Linked DNA regions of Homo sapiens: all the other regions are linked to region 1. Evidence: promoter capture Hi-C in human tissues and cell types (Jung and others, 2019). All regions are on one chromosome and are shown on one strand. The core of a region is centred on a gene start or on the middle of the fragment in contact, and the rest is flanking DNA. Distances in the headings are between cores, read along the strand shown.

The links. Contacts are between HindIII fragments. The study calls those that stand out against the background at their distance.
Region 2: a contact is called between a fragment that was not itself captured here and the fragment with the promoter of IZUMO3 in region 1, in 6 of the 25 tissues and cell types used here (dorsolateral prefrontal cortex, lymphoblastoid cells, mesenchymal stem cells and 3 more).
Region 3: a fragment that was not itself captured here is called in contact with the fragment with the promoter of IZUMO3 in region 1 in 4 of the 25 tissues and cell types used here (H1 embryonic stem cells, mesendoderm cells, pancreas and 1 more).

Annotation. Positions count from the first base shown.
Region 1 is chr9:24,544,092-24,547,274 of GRCh38, forward strand. IZUMO3 (IZUMO family member 3) reads right to left here and starts at 1,806. Exons shown (of 7, transcript NM_001365008.2): 1 at 1,333-1,806; 2 at 1,121-1,195; 3 at 881-970; 4 at 652-669; 5 at 110-190. The coding sequence starts at 1,558. RefSeq lists an enhancer at 256-1,455. The HindIII fragment of the contact is 4,602 bases long and covers 1,135-3,183 here.
Region 2 is chr9:24,731,955-24,734,992 of GRCh38, forward strand. No RefSeq gene overlaps it. Among named protein-coding and RNA genes, the nearest start is that of IZUMO3, 190 kb to the left of the region's middle. The HindIII fragment of the contact is 7,028 bases long and covers 1-3,038 here.
Region 3 is chr9:24,342,103-24,345,289 of GRCh38, forward strand. No RefSeq gene overlaps it. Among named protein-coding and RNA genes, the nearest start is that of IZUMO3, 200 kb to the right of the region's middle. The HindIII fragment of the contact is 4,200 bases long and covers 1-3,187 here.

The DNA.
Region 1 (3,183 bases), core at 556-3,055:
CCATTAAAGGTCATGTAGTGACCCAACAAATACATGTAGAATAAATCAGTGAGCAACCCTGCTCCTTAATCCCTGTCCCTTCAAAATTCCATACCATGATCTTTGTTACCTCCACAATATTCTCCTTTGAAGCACCTGTTAGTCATGCGAAGACACGTCCAACAATCAAGAATGGGACCTTCAACCACAACTGATAAAGAGGAGAAGAAAGATAATCAGAAAGAGGGCATGGCACGAGGGTTCCTTAGTCATACATCAAGTGTGGAGGATTTGATCTCAAGCATTCCCAGGACTCTCAAGTTTGCATTGCTGTGAATTTCTTCTTCTCCTAGAAATCAAGTTTCTTGATGGATCAAAATCTGTAAGTCTGATCTCCAGGAAAAAGCGGGAAAAGGATGCCTCAGCTTATACTGGGGCAATGGGTTGTAAACCATATGTTAGAAGGCCTCCTAGTACCTCAAAAATATGTGGGGTGTCTGAGATTTCATGAGCTAGGTTTCGTTATCAGGTATTGTTGACGTTACCCCTTGTAACCACAGCTCTAGGAATTGGTTTCCCAGTGTAACAGGTGGGAGAGATAGGGCCATATAGAGCAAAGGAGATGGGAAAATATGGGCTGAAACCTCAAGGCGTCACATGTACTGTACTCACTGCAATCTTCAGAACAAGCTAGAAGAGAATCAGAAAGTTCTAATGAGTTTAAAACCAGCTACAGTTTGCCATATTTATACCCAAGTAGTCTTTGTTTACCCTTTAAGTTCCAGTTACCTCTCCACCCATTCTAAATAACTCTATTATGAACTTGCATTTCTTCCCTCATCCCGCATTTTCTATTCCCTTCATATAACTTCAGTGCTGTTATATAGAAAGTTTTACTTACCAATTTCAGAGAAGTTCTTTAGTAATTCTTTCAGTTTGGATTCCAGGTTTTGGCAGACATCGAGAAGCTTGCCTTGATAGATAAAGACACCTAAGAGGGAGTGGAAGGGGTGTCAAAAAATAGAAGTAGCTCTTCCCTTCAGAAGTTAATTATGTCTGTTTTTATCTTTGTTTTCCCCAGCCAAATTTTCTGAGGCTTGCTTGAGCAATACAAACTTTTAACATTGAAACAGTACCTCACCTTTCCATGTTTCATTGCCCAGTTTATAAAATTCATTCTTCAACCATGTTCTCAACTTAACAACCTGCTGAACAGCTAGAGAGGGAGAGTAAAGGTACATGTAGGGGAATAATTACATCTATGCAGGAAGTTATGTAGACCCAGGTGTTCTCTTCCTTGCCTCCCTTCTCCGTTTAAGCCCCTGGACTCTCAGGAACTCAAGCTTCCCTCACCCAACACCCGAAGCCTCTTGTCACTGTGGGAGACCTTGAAGCTTAAATGAATCATCTCCTTAATCTGCCGTTCAAGCAGCTGAGTTCGGCCGGGGACTTCTGAAGGTATCAGATTTCCCAGCAAGGAGCCAACATCCTCTATAAATTTGGGGTCACATTCTAAACAGCCTTTGACTCCATGGAAGGCTGAGAGGGGCAGGAGCAGGAATAACCACAGGTCACCCATTTCTTTCTTCACCCCCGCTCCCCGACAGCAGGTTGTCCTGGCAACTAGTTCACTTAGTTCCTTTTCCTTCAAAAATCCGGGAATGAGAGCCTGGTTCTGGATAGTCTGACTCCACTTTTCCCGCTGTTTCCATCCCACTATCGGGCAATCTTTAGTTGTTTAGTTTAATGATCTTTAGTTGTTTACTGACTATTATCCTTCATTCTAGGAGAGGGAACTGCCAGCTGGGGAGCGGATACCTGAGTTCTGAGTGTAGAACACCAAGAGATAGAGAAGCCTTGAGCTCACACAAGCAGAGTTCTGTGCAGGGAGATGTCTCAGAAAAAGTGTTTCTTTAGCCCTCTCCCTGACTTGCATCCTCATGAGACTCTTAAACCCCCTCCTGACCTTCAGAGATGTTTATCATCAGAGATGGGTTATGGAAGTGATCCTATAGAACCTGAGAGATTGCTTAACTCAAACTCTGCTTCTACATTAGAGGTAAGAAAAGCCAAGAATATTGAGTTTCTTGCGGGTCTCGGTCCCTACTGGGGCAGTATTGTTGACAAATACTGGTGGCAGTATTGTTGAGAATAAAGGAGTGAGCATTTATCTAGAATAATATTTGGCAATTTTAATAGACAGTAACATATTTCAGGCTACATTTATCACTAGGATGATTTTCTAGACATGACTTGTAATCTTTTCCTTTTCTTCTTGCTTTCTTCTCTTTTCTTTCCCTTCCTTCCTTCCTTCCTTCCTTCCTTCCTTCCTTCCTTCCTTCCTTCCTTCCTTCCTTCCTTCCTTCTTTCTTTCTCCTTTTCTTTTCTTTTCTTTTCTTTTCTTTTCTTTTCTTTTCTTTTCTTTTCTTTTCTTTTCTTTTTTTTCTTTTCTTTTCTTCTTTCGAGATGGGATTTCACTCTTGTTGCCCGGGCTGGAGTGCAATGGCATGATCTCAGCTCACTTCAACCTCCGCTCCCGGGTTCCAGTGTTTCTCCTGCATCAGCCTCCTGAGTAGCTGGGATTACAGGCATGTGCCATCATGCCTGGCTTATTTTGTATTTTTAGTAGAGATGAGGTTTCTCCATGTTGGTCAAGCTGGTCTTGAACTCCCGACCTCAGGTGATTCACCCGCCTCGGCCTCCCAAAGTGCTGGGATTACAGGCATGAGCCACTGTGCCTGGTGATTTCTAATCTTTTTATAGCATTCTTCTTATAGAGAGTGTGGAGTCAGATACTAGAAACAATAGTTGAGGAATACTGAGTGATGAATCCAATAAAGTTCAGATCCTTTAACAAGTGCATTCTAAAATACTGGCAAAGTATGTAACATATAAAAACATAGTGGTTATCATGGGCTTCCCTCTCAGACCACCTACAAGGAAGATGTCCAAATAAACATGTTCTCCTTTCAATGGCCCTTTGAATAAAAATATTCTGTGTTATTTGAATAAATTGAGGTTGCTTTTCAGACTCTTAAGAGCACTGGTTACCTCTTTTCTAATACATTGCCTGTATGGCTGTGACCTTCTGGAAACCAGGAAACACTGGCAATCTACAGGGTTAGTGGTAGAATTTATATTTAAGATATGGGGTGATCACAGTGGAATGTTGTGCGGGAAGTTAAAAGAATTACCATTACTTAT
Region 2 (3,038 bases), core at 69-2,568, 190 kb after region 1:
GTGGTGACTCACTGGAGGAGCATATTAAGGTAGATCCATTAGCATCACCATTAAACAGGAGATTAAGCTAGGCTGTATCATTCAATATCCTCACATCACTATTACGTTTGTTTAAGCAGCAAGTCTATTAGCTATAAAGCTTCATATTTAAGTGTAAAGCACAAAATACTCCAGCAAGAACAACAGAAAAGCCACTTGCAAGTACAAATTGACACAATGCTTTTAACTTTTATTTGTACTTAAAAAAACTTTCTTAAGCTCACCTTGCCTCACCCCCTTATTTCCACTGTCAGCTAACCACAAATCTTTTTCAAATCAACATCTCAGCTCTCACCAAATTAATTATTTAGGTTCAGATAAAAATTTTATTTACACCATTTTTGTTCATTCATTCTTCAGGTGTTTTTAATCTCTCAGTGTAAAACATTTCTAAACACAGTAAAGCCCAAAACTTCTCTGGCATTTCTATTACTTTCTCTGAGAACAGTCTTCAACTTGTTATTTATGAAGGTTTTTTTTTATATCACTAGTTTATATTTCAATCAACCAGTCTAGTGATTTTATCTTAAATTAGTATCATTCAAACAGTTTAAATGTCAAAGGCCAAGTTTAACCAAGGAAGAAAACATCCTTTAGAGTTATTACTGTACCACTTCAAAAAAAGTATTAAGAAAATCATCTATAGAAATTAAGATAAAATAATGGAAATCAGGGCCAGTTACATGAGTATGGGACCTGTTCAGTCACACGACCCAAGCTTAAATAAGCCCCACACATGATTTAATATTTGGCTTTTCCCATATTGAAATTCTTAATTTTTGAAAAGGGGCCCTATGTTTTCATTTTGCACTGGACCTCATAGATTATTTAGTCAGTCCTGGTTATATTTTATGATGCATGTATGATTTTATTTCCACTCTAATTTATCTTCCAAGTAGCTATAATAGCATGCACTAGCTCATGCAGCTAACTTACCCCAGGTACAGGGGTGTGAAGATTTTTCTGTTTGTGTGGATGATAAGGTCATTCTTTCTTATTCCAGTGTTTATATTTAAATGGGTAGAGAGTGAACTGGATTGACCTTTGGACAAAGATTCAGTCACAAAAGACATTTTTTAAAAAGAAAACTATTTCTTTAAATAATTTATATATATATGAAAAAACATATATATAACATATGTATATAATACTGAACTGTAATTAAGAGCACTTTAACCGAGATAGAATTTGTATACTTATAAATAAGAATTGTAATATATTTAAAAGCTAAGCAAAGTGAAGATACAATCTAAAATGCATTGTCATAGTTTGACACAAAATCATATAAATTAGAAAAATCAATGCAGAAGTTAGTCAGGAAATGCAGATAAAGACCAGACAGAGGAAAATGATCTTAAAGTGCAATATAAGATTCTTCATTAGGCATGCGGCTTATGTCTGTGCATCATTGGTATTTTGGAAAGGATGTCATATTTCCTCCCTTTTTATTTGTTTTAAGTTTGGAACCTAGAACACTCTAGGTGGCAATGGCTCCTGTAGGCCTGCAAACTTTCTGCTCTTCCCAAGGCAAAGGGAGGTTGCTGAACTGCCAAGCTCCTATCACAACTTTTCCTGTTTCTTTATATTCTCTAGTGTCTCCAAAGATTGCTTTAGCATTCTGCCACACTCAGCATCCACAGAAAACTTAGGTGGGAAAAAACCAAAGTAAAGAGTTAGAGATGATTAAACTTTAACGTCTTAGTGCTTAATTCTGATCATCCTGTCCTGAATTCATTAAGGTATCAGCATGTGGGCCAATACTTGTTTACGTAATGGTTAAAATATTCCAACTGTTTGAAGGTTCAAGAATAGATCAAGAAAAGCCCAAGAGGCCACTTCTAGGCCTACTGTAGTATTTGCTATTGAATTCATAAAATAATGCCCTTCAGAGTAAAATCACCTCCTAGCACAGAGAGCAGATGAAACATTTATTTAAAATGTATTATATGGCACAGCGTCAGGTAGCAGCACATATTTAACTACATGGAATTGTAGACCTGTTCAGGCTAGTACTCTGCTCTTCTGAAGTGTCACAGCAGCATAAAGGAAAGAAGGTTGTAAAGATAATACAACTTTCAAACATTTAGGGCGTTGATGAATACACATTCTCATTTGCATTTTATACAAATTAGCATCAATAGGTAGGGCAGTATTAAAAGTATCTTTACCACTACTTTGTCTGCACACTTTATGGCAGAATGTGCTTACATGCGCTGTCATCAACATTAAATAAACTTTTGGGAGATAGGTTCATTGGAGTACTTCTGAACGCATGAAGTCTTTTTGAATAATTGAGGGCATACATTTATATAGTGTTTGTTACTGGAATTAATAAATCCTTGTATGATATCTCAAATCTTTGAAGAAAAAAGTGGAATCAGTGCATAAGTCAGTGTGCAAAAATCTTTGGCACTAGCCATTTTGTTAAACTTTCTAGGTTTCAATTTCCCTATCAGTAATATCAAAGGTTGGCCAAGAGGTACCGCTTTCATCTTACCTGTTATGTTAATCTACTTTTATAAAGCCCGTAGAAAGACTTAATTTTTCATTATCTGTCTTTGAGACTCCTAATTTCATTGCTTTGTGTATTCATTTGTTCATTTATCCCGTAAAGTTTGCTTGATTGATGTCAAGCACTGTTCCTTAGCTCTGAAGATTCAATGTCAAGGGAGATAGGGCAGGAAAAGATGGAGGAGATATTTTCAGGCTCTCATTTAGCTTAGAGTCTTGTTTGCATTTGGCAGGCAATTATAAAAGAATGACAATTTAATATGGTCTTGCAACTGTGAGAAATATAAAAATGAAGGATTAGATGAGTGCATCTGATCTGGTTAAGAACAAGGAAAGCTCCCCTGAAGGTTCTCATGACAGAACTGAGATTTAAGACCTGAGTACAGAGGCAGAGTTAATAACTTGAGAAGGCCAGAGTCAGGACTGGAATAGGGAAAAGCAAAATCTGGGTTAACAATGATACAATGTTTAGAAAGACTAAATTAACA
Region 3 (3,187 bases), core at 291-2,790, 200 kb before region 1:
AGACCTTGTCTCTCATTCTCTCTCTCTCTCTCTCTCTCTTTCTCTTTCTCTCTCAATAATAATAATATATCTGCCACTTAACAGCTTAGTTAGGCCTTTGCTTTTATATCTGTAAATGGGGACAGTAGTGTCTATCTCAGATGATAAGTGGTAAGATTGAGGTCGTATATACAACAGCATATAAAAGTAGTGAACACTATAGCATGTGATGTATGGTAGGCCCTGTTCTAAGCACTTTGCCTGTTGATTCATTTAATCCTTGTTATAGCCTTATGAAGTAAATACTATTATAAGCTTATCTTTAGAATGAACAAACTGAGGTTGAGAGATATTAAGTATCTTGCCCAAAGTAACTGCTGTAGTTTGAGTGTGTCCCTTCCAAAATTCAGGTGTTGTAACTGTGATAGTGTTAAGCAGTTGGGCCTTTATAAGATGATTAGGCCAAGAAAGCTGGTTTCCTTGTTAATGGGATTATGCCCTTTTCTAAAAAGTCTTCCTGCAAAATTCAGCCAGCTTGCTGTTCTGCTTTCTGCCATCGGAGGACACAGCAAAAAGGCCCTCAGCAGACCAAATGCCAGCACCTTGATCTTGGATTTCCCAGCCTTTAGAATTGTGACAAATATATTTCTGTTATTCATAAATTACACACTGTCACATATTTTGGTGTAGGAGCACAAAATGGACTGATAGTAAGTGAAAGAACTAAGATTTGAATTCAAGAAGTCAGGCTATAGAAAGCATGTGTTTCAGCATTCCATCTTGGTAGTCTACTTTCCTTCTTTATAAGTTAAGAATAGTTTTTATCTAAAAATAAATTGAAAGGGGCTCATTTATCAAGTGCTTGTAATGAATGTCAGTGACCCAGGTAGAATATGGTCTCTGCCCCTAACAAGGTCTCAGAATCATGGGGGAAGTGGGCAGGTAAACAGTGTGACAAATCCTGTGGCAGCAGTATGCACAACGTGCTATGAGAAAACAAACATATCTCCTAGTCAGCAAGGTTTTTCTTTTCAGGGTGTTTTTACTTTTATAGAAGACTTTCTTCTCTCTGTTTCTGAGGCCACAAAAATGAAGTGACTTAGAGCAGTCTTCACATGAGGTTTAGGACTCCAGGTGCTAAATAGTCTACGATTTCCAAAGCTTCATATTTTTATCCTTGTCTGTGTTATTTAGCTCTTCGACTTTTTCAAATCAGATGGGCTACTTAATGAATTGTCATCTGTAGATCAAATGAAACTGGAGGGGAGACAGTTTTGATATTTTTCTATTCAGGCTCCAGTAAGGAAAGTGCTGTATATCTGAAACAAGATAGTGGGTGAACACATCTGGCTTTTTGAGCTTGTGTTATAAATAGAATATCAAACGAGTTAAGAGAAATAGCCATGTAGCTATGAGGCTCTGTGCAACAGGATTTAATGTCAAAAATGGTTCATATTATGATTATTTTTTTCACCACTCTATCCTCATCAAGTGTCTGAAAGATACCAGGAAGCAAATACACAGAAATAGGTATATATTTCAATAGTAATTATCCAGGCTAATTAAAAGTAAAATCTTGTATATAGAAAGAGAATATTATCTGGCAACCAGCCAACCACAGAGTACCAGTTTTGTCAGCGTAGCTCATTTTCTTTCAGAATGTGATATGTCTAGAAATAAACCTTGAAGAAAAATGTGAGATGGGGAAGAGAATGAAGAAAAAAGGTCTTGTTTAGTATAGGAACCTGTCCATCTCTTGATGCTTGCCATATGTGCTTTGTTTTTATATCACCAGTTTGCATATTTATCATGGTTTCTACATATTGATTTGCAGTTTTCACACTCAGCCTCTTACATTTCTCTCAGTATATAGGTAGACACCCTGTCACAGTGAGGGGAGTTCTACTTGCTGTTTAATGGGTTTCTCATAGTCAGTGATAGATTGAGCATTTGTGATATTCCAGGAGTAGAGGTCTCAACAAGTCAGAATTACTCCAAAAGCTACCCCAGGAGGAGTGGAAACCCTTTACAAGAGTGTAATATCTCTATTTAAGTATGTCTTCTTGCCAGGAGTGGTGTCTCACATCCATAATTCAAGCACTTTGAGAGGCAGAGGCAGGAAGATCACTTGAGACCAAGAATTCAAGACCAGCCTGGGTAACATAGAAAGACTTCATCTTAACAAAAAATAAAAAATTAGTCAGGCATGTGGTGTACACCTGTAGTCGTAGATACTAGGGAGGCTGAGGTGGGAGGATCACTTGAGGCCAGGAGTTTGAGGCTGTGGTGACCTATGATTGCACCACTGCACTTTAGCCTGCGTGACAGAGCAAGGCTCTGTCTCAAAAAAAAGAAAAGTGTATCTTCTTTATATTTAAGACATCAGAAAAATACCACATCAAAAAAAATCATGTGCTTTACGATTTTTGCTCCTCATTTTCCTAAATCCAAGTTGAAGTGTGAGGTATGACTTGATGAGGTAAGACACATTGAGCGTCGTGTGGTTCAATAGAGCAGTGGTGTCTACGCTAAGATGAATATCAGAATTACGTTAGGTGCTTCTGAAAAAAAATACTAGGGCCTCACCCCAAATATATTAATTCTGTTGGTCATGGGTACAATATACAGTTTGAAAGCTCTTCTAGTGATTTTAATGATCAAGCACATTTAAAACCATTGCAGTTATGAGCTTAGTATCTTTAAAGTGTCACACGATTCTACTATGCAGCTAGGAATGAGAGCTTCTGTTTTAGGAGTTGGAAAGTTAAATGTAGGGATAAAGTGTGGTATAACATGAGTATTGGACTAAACTAAATAGAGGTATCTAAAGACCAGAGAGAGAAGGTAGTAGATTTGGAGTCAGCAATGTATAAAGCTCCTTCCTCTTTAAATCTCTAAGGCTTTAAGTAGCATTAAGATCAATAATCCTACAAAACATTTCATTTATCACTGATGTCCATCAAGCTATATATCTATATCGGCATGGTCGTCAGAGATGGGGAATATGCCAGACATTTTGGAGATGAAAGAGAATGCAAAGGGATTTCCATATTTGTCCAAAACCAGGGAGGGTGGAGGTGTTGGGGGATAATGGATGAAACTCACTTTTACTGAGTAGCTGCTATGTTCCAAGTATTTTGCTACTTAATAAGTGCTACTGATGAAAATCATAGTAGTAACTAACACTTTTATGGTGCTTATGTGCCAG